Regions from separate parts of the Homo sapiens genome. Here all the other regions are linked to region 3. The links are contacts of gene promoters, found by promoter capture Hi-C in human tissues and cell types (Jung and others, 2019). All regions are on one chromosome and are shown on one strand. Each heading gives the region's core, a stretch centred on a gene start or on the middle of the fragment in contact. The rest is flanking DNA. Distances are from core to core; before and after follow the strand shown.

What was found. The method cuts DNA at HindIII sites, captures the fragments that hold promoters and counts their contacts. A contact is called where the count stands out against the background at its distance.
Region 1: a fragment that was not itself captured here is called in contact with the fragment with the promoter of ABHD17B in region 3 in 1 of the 25 tissues and cell types used here (lymphoblastoid cells).
Region 2: a fragment that was not itself captured here is called in contact with the fragment with the promoter of ABHD17B in region 3 in 1 of the 25 tissues and cell types used here (lymphoblastoid cells).
Region 4: a contact is called between a fragment that was not itself captured here and the fragment with the promoter of ABHD17B in region 3, in 1 of the 25 tissues and cell types used here (dorsolateral prefrontal cortex).

Annotation. Positions count from the first base shown.
Region 1 is chr9:70,316,855-70,319,593 of GRCh38, reverse strand. It overlaps SMC5 (structural maintenance of chromosomes 5), which reads right to left. Exons shown (of 25, transcript NM_015110.4): 14 at 907-1,080; 15 at 631-800. Among named protein-coding and RNA genes, the nearest start is that of SMC5, 59 kb to the right of the region's middle. The HindIII fragment of the contact is 6,146 bases long and covers 1-2,739 here.
Region 2 is chr9:73,115,913-73,118,701 of GRCh38, reverse strand. No RefSeq gene overlaps it. Among named protein-coding and RNA genes, the nearest start is that of ANXA1, 35 kb to the left of the region's middle. The HindIII fragment of the contact is 6,511 bases long and covers 1-2,789 here.
Region 3 is chr9:71,909,762-71,912,461 of GRCh38, reverse strand. It overlaps ABHD17B (abhydrolase domain containing 17B, depalmitoylase), which reads left to right and starts at 1,269. Exons shown (of 4, transcript NM_001025780.3): 1 at 1,269-1,828. C9orf85 (chromosome 9 open reading frame 85) reads right to left here and starts at 823. Exons shown (of 4, transcript NM_182505.5): 1 at 626-823. The coding sequence starts at 727. RefSeq lists enhancers at 556-615, 626-675, 746-1,055 and a silencer at 1,506-1,745. The HindIII fragment of the contact is 8,289 bases long and covers 1-2,700 here.
Region 4 is chr9:70,477,754-70,480,453 of GRCh38, reverse strand. The region is part of intron 3 of KLF9-DT (KLF9 divergent transcript); the gene reads right to left. Among named protein-coding and RNA genes, the nearest start is that of KLF9, 64 kb to the right of the region's middle. The HindIII fragment of the contact is 4,412 bases long and covers 1-2,700 here.

The sequences.
Region 1 (2,739 bases), core at 8-2,507, 1.6 Mb after region 3:
CAATTACCTGAAAAGTCTAAAATACTCCTCCTTTTCCAACTGCATATTTATGGGAAGCCAGATTTCCTTCATATACTTCAACTCAAACATCTCACTACAAACTCAATATACAGAATTAAGTAGGGAAAAACCTACTGACTTCAACTAAAGAAATCTGCAAAAATGTAAAACGCCACTCTTCTCACTAAATGTATTTTGTCTGGAAAACAGCTATTTTTAATACATTTTTATGTTAACACATAATGGGTTTATTTTTAAAATGAATTACTGCCCCATCTCCACCTAAAAAAAAATAAATTAATGAATATTTTAAACATTCTCAGTTTTAATTTCTAATATGGTAAATATCAATAAATACAATCCATGTAAACAAAACCTCTTCAAGGTCCTCATTAATTTTTAAGCATATAAAGGAGTCCAGAGACTGGAAGAACAGAAGAACTTGCAACACTCAAGATTCATCTCCTTTTGCCCTATGGAATAAAATTGTGTTTTATGCAGTAAGATTAAAGATTAAAGAGAAATTACTACAAAGCGTGCTTGTGGAAATGCTGTTGTTATTACAGTGTATAATTAATATTCTCCCATACAGTAATTTGTGCTCTCCCCCCTGAATAGGCTAAAAGATACCTTCCTAGTTTGGAACTGATTTTTTGTTCCAGTTGTCTTTTCTTGGTTTTTCTCTCAAGAAGCTCCTTCTTCTTTTGTCTAAGTTCATTGTCTTTGTGCTCCAGATGTTTGCTTGTTTCACGTAAGGCAATCAACCCTGAATCCACTGCTTGCAATTTTCTATGAATTTCCTATAAAATATTTAAAAATTGTTAACATATTTAAAAAACTGTTCCAGTGAAACTATTAGAAATCCAGTTAATATTCTTTTCTAACATTCAGATCAAATTAACCAACCTTTAGCTGTTCTTCTAAGTGTCTTCTCTGCTCTAGGTCCACAGTGACAGTGAGAAACTGCGCTACTTTTAGAGATGTGTTACTAGAAATAACTTTGTTTGAATAAAAAGAAGTTTTCACCACATACTTTTCTTCTGCTGTATAAATCTGTTTTAATCGGGTTTCTTGTATTACCTATAACGTAAAACAACTATTAGTGCACATCTAATATAAATTATATGTTTTAAAGTACTAAATTAGAAATACAGACCAAGTGAATTTTGGAAGATCAAAATATACGAGATATACATTTTTTTTTTTTAGACAGGGTCTCACTCTGTCACCCAGGCTGGAATGCAGTGGCACGAACTCAGCTTACTCCAGCCTCAACCCCCCAGGCTCAAGTGATCCTTCCACTTCAGCCTCCTGAGTAGATGGGACTACAGGCATGTGCCACCACGCCTGGTTAATTAAAAAAAATTTTTGTAGAGATGGAGTTTTTCCATGCTTCCTATGGGGGCGCTGGTCTTGAATTCCTGCCTCTGAGATTCTCCCGCCTGGGTCTTCCAAAGTGCTGGGATTACAGATGTGAGCCACTGCATCTAGCAATTTTTTTTTTAACCTATCCAACAAAATTTCAAAAAAGGCGGCCCATACAACTAGCAAAGTCAGCTATACTTCTACGCTACTATACAACTCTCCCAAGTAGTTTTGGAGCTTTGTTACATCTAAAGAAGAGATAGCAGGAGAGAAGAGTGCTCAGCACATTGAACTGTTATCTTGGGTAAGTCATTTACTCTCCCCTCCTCTCAGTTATACTGTTCAAAGATACATAATCTTATATTTAGTTCCTGTATATTTGGGAAGAATAATCAAATGAAACATTTTTCATAGATTTCAAAGCCTTTTCTTATTTTTAAAGTTTTTTAGAACTTTTCTCTGAAGAATTTATACATGGATTTCATAAACTAAAATATATTATAAATACCACAACCATACCACTATTTGATCTATTTCTGTATATTTATAGAGTAGGCTGCTGCAATGCAGAGCATTTTTAGAGGTTGTTTCCAATCTCTAAAAACCTTCAGATACTATTGTAATACTACTGTAGCTTGTTTCCTTCCAGAAGTTTATAGTCTAAGTGAAGAAGTAAGACATATTTAAGCACACTAGGTCAACAGGGCATAAATCCTACAATCCGACTAATCTGAAAAAAAGGGATAGACTGGATGACTTTAGCCTACCCAAGTTTCCTAAAAATGAGTTTTAAACTGGATTTGAACTGACAGAGTGAAGGAAGAGCACTTCCCATAAAAGTGACATCTCAAGCTAAAGAAGTCAGCAGACAATTTAACCAAAGGGAGAATCTTAGAAATTAATGAGAGAACAATTCCATAAATAGGATATACTGTTAGATAACCTAAAATGTTAAGAGTTAATAATAAAAGAAAACATAAAGAGTATACTTTTATTCTGAGGAAGAGATACAGCCATTATTGCCATTATCTAGCCATTATTGTCTCAAACAGAAGGATTGAGGATATAAAGGTAGTAAATTTCCTCAATAAAGGTTTATATCTTCTGAAAGATAGCTAAGATAATCTTTACTAGGTACTTGAAATACTTTCTAACTTGGGTTTTCTTGTACATACAGATGTCTGAAAAGTATATCATCATAAATTATTTATATACAACATAGAACTGAGTTAGGCATTGGGACAGTAAGGTATTTGATATGTTTGAGAATTTAAAAAATATAGTATATAAAACCAAAGAGATTAAGATTAATGAAAACACCTGAAAAAGAAATGGGAAGAAAAGAATTTCACTTTTAATATAAATTATATGAAT
Region 2 (2,789 bases), core at 268-2,767, 1.2 Mb before region 3:
GGTTAAAATCATATTGTTTATTTCTGAGAGCAGTCCCAAACTTAAACATTTGGTTATTTTTCTTTTCACATAATGAAAAAATAATATGCTTACAGAAACTTTGTATCTCCAAGAAATTCTATGACTCTCTGAAGGAGCTGAAGGTTACCTAAAAAGATTTGTCATCAGAGGCATGACACAAGTAGTCACTTCCCCTGGTGCTCCCTTGCCTGGAATTGTTCCTGGTGAAACAAAAAATTACCCACCCAGTGTGACTAAAAGAATTAAAAGCAATAGAGAATACAGACAGGGTAAGCTATGATTAATTGCTTGGTAAGATGAAACTTTAATCCAAAATATACATGAATCCTGGTATTTAATGCTCAGGGTTTTTAAAAGGTAATCTTTGAGGTTTTAACACACCTTCAAAAGCATGGCTTTAAATATATTCTTTTGCCTTCATAAGAATTTCCGCTTATGAGTTCTCAGTAACAGCAATAATACTAGAGAAATTAAATAATCTAATCAGGCATAAACTTTCCAATGTCATCAAATTTATCTAGCATGAACAGTTTTGATGAGATCTAATTATAGTCCTAATTACTGAGAGTTGCCTACAGATCAATATTTTCCTGCTTCTCTTTGGCAACAAGAAAACATGTTCCTATAGAAAAATAAAAATGTCAGAAAGCATTGAACTGAGAAGAGGCAGGAGAAAGCATCAAACTAGGAAGAGCCAGGACAAAGCTGTGAATCAGTACAGAGCCAAGATTGTTGTAAAAGTTTCTAATAAATCTGAGGGATGATTCAAGGATACAAATGGTAGAATGTATGGCAAAGTTGGTGATTTGGAGAGGCAACACAAGAAAGAAGACATTTTCTACTCAATTATATTATTCAGGATAAGATAGATTATATTGTGGTAGTGAAATGAACCCTGAAATCTCATCAGCTTAATATATAAAGCTTTATATCTTGTTCACCCAAAGTCAGCTGTGATTTGGTAGCTCTCAAGAACAGCTCCCTTTCCCCTGTACCACAGGTATCAAGGCAAAGCTCTTGTAGCACCACCGTCAGCAAGGGTTGGTTTAAGAGTTGTGTTGAGAGAAGAGGGAGCTAGGAATTGTGTCAAGGGAGGTGTGTCTGGACTCTTCCCAGGTGAGGATGTAGAGGGGCAAGTGGACTGAGGTACAAACCGTAGAACTCACCAAATATCCCTATGCTCTTTTCCACATTTCCCAGTCTCCATGTAGTTATTTTGGGACAACAAGACTACCCTGACCAATGGGATATGAACAGCAATAATATATCACCTATGAGATGAGGCATTTAAGAGGCGGTGTGAGTTATTTCTCTTCCCTTGCCATGGTGATCACTGCAGTCCCAAAAGATAATGCTAGAAGATTTAAAAAGAAAAAAAAGAAAAGGACCTGGATCTCCAAGTCACTGTTTGGAAGGAAGCTGTCCTAGAGAGTTACTTGAACCACAAATGACTTTGTGTGGGCAAGAGAGGAGTAAATTTGTATGCAATAAGCCCTGAGTGTTGAGATTTGTTTCCATAGCATAACCCATCTGTCTTTACTGATATCCTAGTGAAGATGAGTGCTTCAGAACTAAGCTCTCCTATGGAGGATGTTCTGGAGATCTAAGTTTCCTAGAATCCTACTGTGGTTTAAAAGAAAAGGGCATTACAACCCAGGTATGAGCATTACATGATTATATGAATAAGAATGAGATTACGTGGTTAGAAATGTGTCTATCCAATTTAAAAGTTGCAGTACATTTTCAACATAACAGCTAATTTTCCCAACAACAGACTTGATCTTACTCCTAATCATTTTCTCCTCTTTTCCTTTAGAATCTACAAAAACCCTGCTGAGGTTATTTTTACCCCATGGTCAATAGGTGTTTTCCTAATAGACCTGAGTGACCATTTTTTTCACAGTACAGAATAAACTTTCATCCATCAAGTTTTTTTATTAAAGAAGATCTTCCCAATTGTAAAATTCTGCCATATAGAAAATAATTTCAAATATTTTTAATTGAGCATGAAATAGATGGCACAAATTATTGATTCATTGTCTCATTGCTACATAAAAGACACTGTTAGTATGTTTTAATGTGTTTGCTTCAGATGTGTATTCAAATAGTCCAGAAGTAGAAAGGGCTTGATTTCTAAAACTGGAAACAATCCATACTAGATATTCCTAGCAGAAACAAGGCTCTAAAACGATTTTAATAGGCCTGCAGATTTTAGTTTAAATAGAACTAGTACATGGTTTGAAAATACTTAAAGGAAGATAAATATCCTTGCCTCTGTGAGGGCCAAACCTCATGACTGGGAAAAGTGCAGTCAGAGAAACCATGAATTACATTTATAATTTTGCTGTGAATCTTGAATCCCTTAGTTTCAGTCAAGATATATGAAGTCAGGTTTATGACTAAGAAAGCCACTGTTTCTCTTTCATGCAATGAATCAGAGGGAATAGGCAGTTAGCTAGAGCTAAGCATAGATTAGCAGAGACAGAAACGCTGAGCTGTCAAATACTTCAAAACCAGTAGCAGCAAACAAAATATCCAAGTGCTGCTCTAAACTTATAAGACTATTACAAACCTAGGAATTTTCAACACCCAAAGCAACATAAGTCTTAAAGGTATCTTTTGGAATATGAAAAACCAGAGTCATGCTATAAAGTGATAATAATAAGATATTTCTTTCTTATTTATAGTTCTTTAACACTTGCTTTTAAATATAGTATTCTTTTAAACACATTATCCCTTGCTATAATACAAGAAAAATGACAGATGAA
Region 3 (2,700 bases), core at 20-2,519:
GCAAATTAGTACTTATATACAACCCAAGTCCTCTGGCTATCTAGACAGTCTGAATTTTTTAGCAGGACTTTACAGAAGTCCTGCTAAAGATAAACAGCAAAACAAGTATTTTTACATTAACCAAATATTTTTATCTTCAAAACAATTGTTACAAAACAGAAATTTCACACAATACTAGTGAGGACAGCCTAAGACAGCTTAATCATTCACATTTCCTCTATGGGCTTGGGGTTTTTGGAAAAAAAAATCGTAGCTGCATAAACTTGGTGTAAAATTTGAAAAAGCCACTCATGCCACAATCCTCGTTTCCCTCTGCTAATGTGATCCAGATGGGAACGCTGAACGACGTAACTGCCCCATCTGCACCTTAGATTTCATTAGGGTCCTGTTCACTCTGTGCAATTAGTTAAGTGTGCTGACCATCAAATATTTACCAGGAGACAACATGTCCAGGTCAAAGAAAGGGCGTGAGAATAACATTTTAGAAAGAGTTGCACTGCAGCCAAGACTAACTCTGGGCTGCGGTCCACACTCGCCCCAGCCGACTCCTCTCATTTCCTCTCTCCCCTCTCCAGTGAGCCATTCCTTCCTGGAGTCAAAGACGGTGCAACAGGCAGGTTCCTACCTTGGTCTGCACACTTTTATCGAACTTGTCATTTTTGAAGCTAAACGTATTCTGGTGCTTCTGAGGTCTGGAACGAGCCACGTTGCCTTTCTGGGAGCTCATCGCCGAAATCAAAGCCACCCCTCGCCGGGAGCAGGCAAAAGGATGAGGGGAAAGAAAACCAACGAACTACTCCCAGGAATTGACGCTTCTGTCAATGACCCGGAAGAAACAAACGCAGCCTTTCCGCCCCGGCTCTGGGTCAGCCCACGTGACTCTTCTGGGAGGTCAAAGAGCATCGCTCTGCCCTCCCTGCTGTTAAGCCAAGCCACTCCACGCGGCGCAGCCTCGACCCCTCCGGCTCCGCGCAGCCTCTTTCTCAAACCCGGAGAACAAGTCCCACTTTCTTCGAAATGAGAATTCCCCCATTGGCCCGAATGTGTAGTCCATCAAATCAAAGGGGCGGGGAACCTTTGTTCCTATTGGTTCTTCTTTTCCGCAATCCCCGCCTCCTGCTGAGCGAGCTCAGCCTCTCCTTGAGCTCAGAGCGCCTCCCACCCTGCCGGGCGGCCTCTGATTGGTGGAAGTGAGGCAAGGCTGGGCTCCGTCTCTCCCCCCGCCCGCTAGTAGGCTGGAGCCGGGGTCAGCTTTGGCACCTTCCTCCAGTCAGTGGCCAACTCCTGGCTCAGTGGGGATTGTGCTCGTCCCCTCCGTTCCCCTCCAGTCTTCCTCCCGCTACCGGAACGAGCCTCGCGCTTGGCAGGCTGAGGAGGAGCAAAGAAAGCAGGATTAAAGAGAAGGAAGACCTGGCTAGGTCTGGGTGGCGTCTGCAGTGCCAGAAAGGGAGGCGGTGGCGGCGGCGGCTGCGACCACGGCCGCGCGGGACGTGAGGCCCGAGAGCAACCGACGGGCAGCGGCGGCCGCTCCAGCGCCCCGCACCGGGGCCGTTAGTCAGCAGAACGCGAGCTCTTGTGGAGGAGCAGGGCCGGCGCGAGGCGAGACTCGGGAGCGTGAGCGGGGCCCCTGGGGCGCCGCCGTCCTTCTTCGCCCCGGCGCCGGGGGCTGTAGCCCTGGTCCCCGCTCCTCTGTCGGGCCAGTCTGCAGGCGGAGAGAGTCGGACGGCGCCCGGAGCGCGGATCTCGCCTTGTGGAGGACAGCGCGTCGGCTGCGGTTCTCTCTCGACCCCTTCTGCCCGGCGCTTCGGCCCGGGCCGCTCAGGTGCAGGTGCGTGCGGCCTCGGGGTTTGGGGACGCCGCAGCCCGGCTCGGGGAGGGGGCGCTAGGCCGGGAGCCGCAGCGCGGGAGGGACGAGCCCGGGCCGGCGGGGGGAGGGGAGCGGGAAGCGTCTTTGTTGTTGGCGACCGGGATCCCTTCTCGGCACAGGGGAAAGGCGGGGAAGCCACTCCTCATCGGGTCTGTGTTTTTGAGAGGATTCTCTGATGGTTGCGTGAAGGGGAGCGGTAGGACAGTCCCTGCGGTCCGTGGAGCGGCCGGAGTCAGGGGGTGGGGGAGGGAGGACCGACCGACACTCTAAGAAGGTCTTTGGTCCTCCTCGGTGAAGAGAAGGGTTCCATTTCATTTCCTTTGCTTTTCTCTCAGTGGATGAAAAGATGGGGTCAGGTTCCCATTCCCCTCACTGGCGCACTGAGAGATTCGCGGGTGCCTAAAAGCTTTCTCCTGAATGTCCTTATATCTCTGTCGGGCGCGATTTTAGATTGAATCTGCACGGGGCTTGGCGATTTGTGTATTCCGGTGGGGCTGTCGTAGGGTTCTTTTTCTTTAGATGGTTGGGCTTTAATCTTATTTGTTTTCGAACTCTAAGGTAGGCTTATCAGGAATCGTTTTTGAATTGGAAAATTTAAAGGTTTTGTTTGGGATTTTTTTTAACCCCGAAACAAAGTTATGTCAAATTAGATTGTACTGTGTGGGGGCTCTCGTGAAGGAAAGAGTGTATTTAACCTGGGGTTTTTGTTTAAAAAAAAAAAAAGTTCAGATCTTTGATCTTTGGTGAGATCTCTGCCAATGCCAGAAGAGAATTTTTTGTAAATGATGCTTTAAGTCAGTGTGAAGTAGATTTGGTAAGCAAAAGGATGAATA
Region 4 (2,700 bases), core at 122-2,621, 1.4 Mb after region 3:
AAGAGGGGATAGAGGATCAAGTTCATTGTTACCCTAACCCCCACTCCCAGCTTTTCTATTTTCTTCTGGATCCAAAGCTTTTTCCTCCTTTGTCTAGAATTTAAAGTGCAATTCAACACATACTTATCGAGTGTTTATTTTGTGCCAGGGCCTGTCCCTAGAATAATACTAGTAGCAAGGTTGTTCTAGTGAAGTGAAATCTGGCCCTCACACCCATCAGAAGAGGAAGGACAGGAAAAGGGAAAGCTGTGTATGGAGACAGGTGGCAAGGCGGGAGGGGAGGGCTGCCAGAATGAAGGATGGACAGGCCTGAATATGGGTGGGTGTTTTAAAGTATGACAAAGCAGACATCTGGAACGGGGCTGCTTTTGCATTGCCCTTTCTACGTTGACTTCAAGCCTATTTGCAAGAGGAAAAAAATGGCAAGAATGCACAACTGCCCGCCCCAGGAGGGATGGAACTGCACCTCAGCCTTCTTTAAAGGTTCCTGTTTCCCCGCTGCTGTGGCAGGAGCAGAGACCAGCAGGAGGTGAGCAGGGCACAGAGGGGCCTCACAGAGAAACAGAAAGAGGATAATCAGGGCCTCCTAGGCAGTGGCTTTGAATCCTAATTTGTTGGGTGAACCTCAGGCAAGTTTCTCAGATTTGTGCCCATGAGTCTCTGCGCTGTCAGCTATTAACTGGGGAGAGTCTACCTATTAGTAGAACTATTGTGGGATTTAAGGAAATAATATCTCCCTTTGCTTGGCAGACACTAGGTATTTAATAAATAGTAACCATTGTTATTATTAATGTAAGTACTATTCAGAGAAAGCTGTTAACCTGGTGTCAATTAAGAATTTGCACCAATGTGACCTCTGAAATGTTTTCTTGCCCACGTATTTTCACAATTTATTTACTTAGTGAATGTCTATGGAGCACCTGTTTGTAGCCCTGTGCTCTATTCCAGGCACGGCAGGAGGCACTGGGGCAACAACAGTCTTGTCCTGGAGAGCTTCCTCACCTTTCCAGGGAGGGCAGTTTACACAGGGCAGCAAACCCTGGGTGGCAGACCAGCGCTTCCTCACTGCCTACCTTCTGTCATGTTCAAGCTTGTTTCCTCTAGGTCCAAGATCATCTCTATGATTGTGACCAGCCATCCCATAGGAAAAGAAGCTTCCAGAGATACTGGGGAACAAGGATTGTTCAGGGACAGCCCTGATGTGAGACACTTCTCAGAACTGTTCTTCCAGAATGTAAACACCCTTTCCCTTTCTCACTTCAGGACCAGAGCTCCTGCCAAGACTTTGAAAAACAAGTTACACAAGCACCTTTGGGGAGGTTGGCCATGCCACACCACAGCTGTAGCTACATGGGAGAGGAGGAGGGAGCTGGCCTCAAGGACTTAGTCAGGGACAATACTTCCACCCCTAAACACAAGTTCACAGGTCCAAGAGTCCAGTAGAACACAAGCCCTTGGACCACCACACCATGCCCCAGCCTGTGGCCCAAGGAGTCAGTCACTGAGGATAATTTCGCAGACTCCCCTGCCACCATCACTGACAGATCCCAGAGTTCAAAGAGTAATCAATCGCCTGTCATTAGAGCCAGTGCTCAGGCCCAGGTGGGGCTTTCTTGGAACTGGTCACTGGGATATCTTAAATTCTTTTTTTTTTTTTTTTTCCAGACAGGGTCTCACTCTGTCACCCAGGCTGGAGGGCAGTGGAGTGATCATGACTTGCTGCAGCCTCAACCTCCTGGGCTCAAGCAATCCTCCCACCTCAGCCTCCCAAGTAGCTAGAACCACAGGTGCACGCCACTATGCTCAGCTAATTTTTTAGTTTTTTGTAGAGACGGGGGTTTTGCCACGTTACCCAGGCTAGCCTCGAACTCCTGAGCTCAAGCAAACTCCTGGTCTTGAGGAGTTCCTGGGCTCTTTCTACCTTGGCCTCCCAAAGTGCTGGGATTACAGGCCTGAGCCACCATGCCTGGCCTTAAGTTTTTTCTTCCCTGGGGAGATCACCTCCCTTCACTTCCCTGACCAGACCTCCCTCACAGAAGGCCCTATTTAAAATTTTGGCAGCAAAGAGCCTGTCTCAAAAACACTTCTCTCCCAATTGAAGTTATTTGCCAAGGGCTAGTGCCAACTCCAGCCAGTCGTAGATGGAATTTCTCAGGCCAGAGTGTGCCTGGGGCAGTAAATGCAAAACCTTAAGGATCTGACCTGGACCAAGCTAAATAAATCCAGGGACTGGGCATGTAACCAAGATCTCAGAAGGAGTAAATGAAGGGGAGTTCTCAGAGAATTAAGCAAGAGTTTGCACCAACCCACACACACCTGGTGGGAGCAAAGACCTAACAGAATGACATTTGTTGATCACACATAATGTATCAAGTACTTTACATACATTCTCTCATTTCAACCCCACAGTAATCCTGTAGAGTAGGTGTTGATATCATCCCTGTTATAGATAAGAAACCAAGACTCAAAGAGCTTAAATAACTTGTCCGAGATCATGCAGCCATGGACATGGCAGAGCTGGCACTTAAACCCAAGTCTATCCAAGGTTGAAAGCCCAGATTCCTTTGATTACACTATTCTGCCTCCCTGTATGCAAGAATCTTCTTTCATTTTTAAAAAAGTTTTTTCAAAAGAAAATGTTTTTCAGAATTGTGCTCCAGAGACTCTTATTAGAATACAGGTAGAATCATCTTGTATATT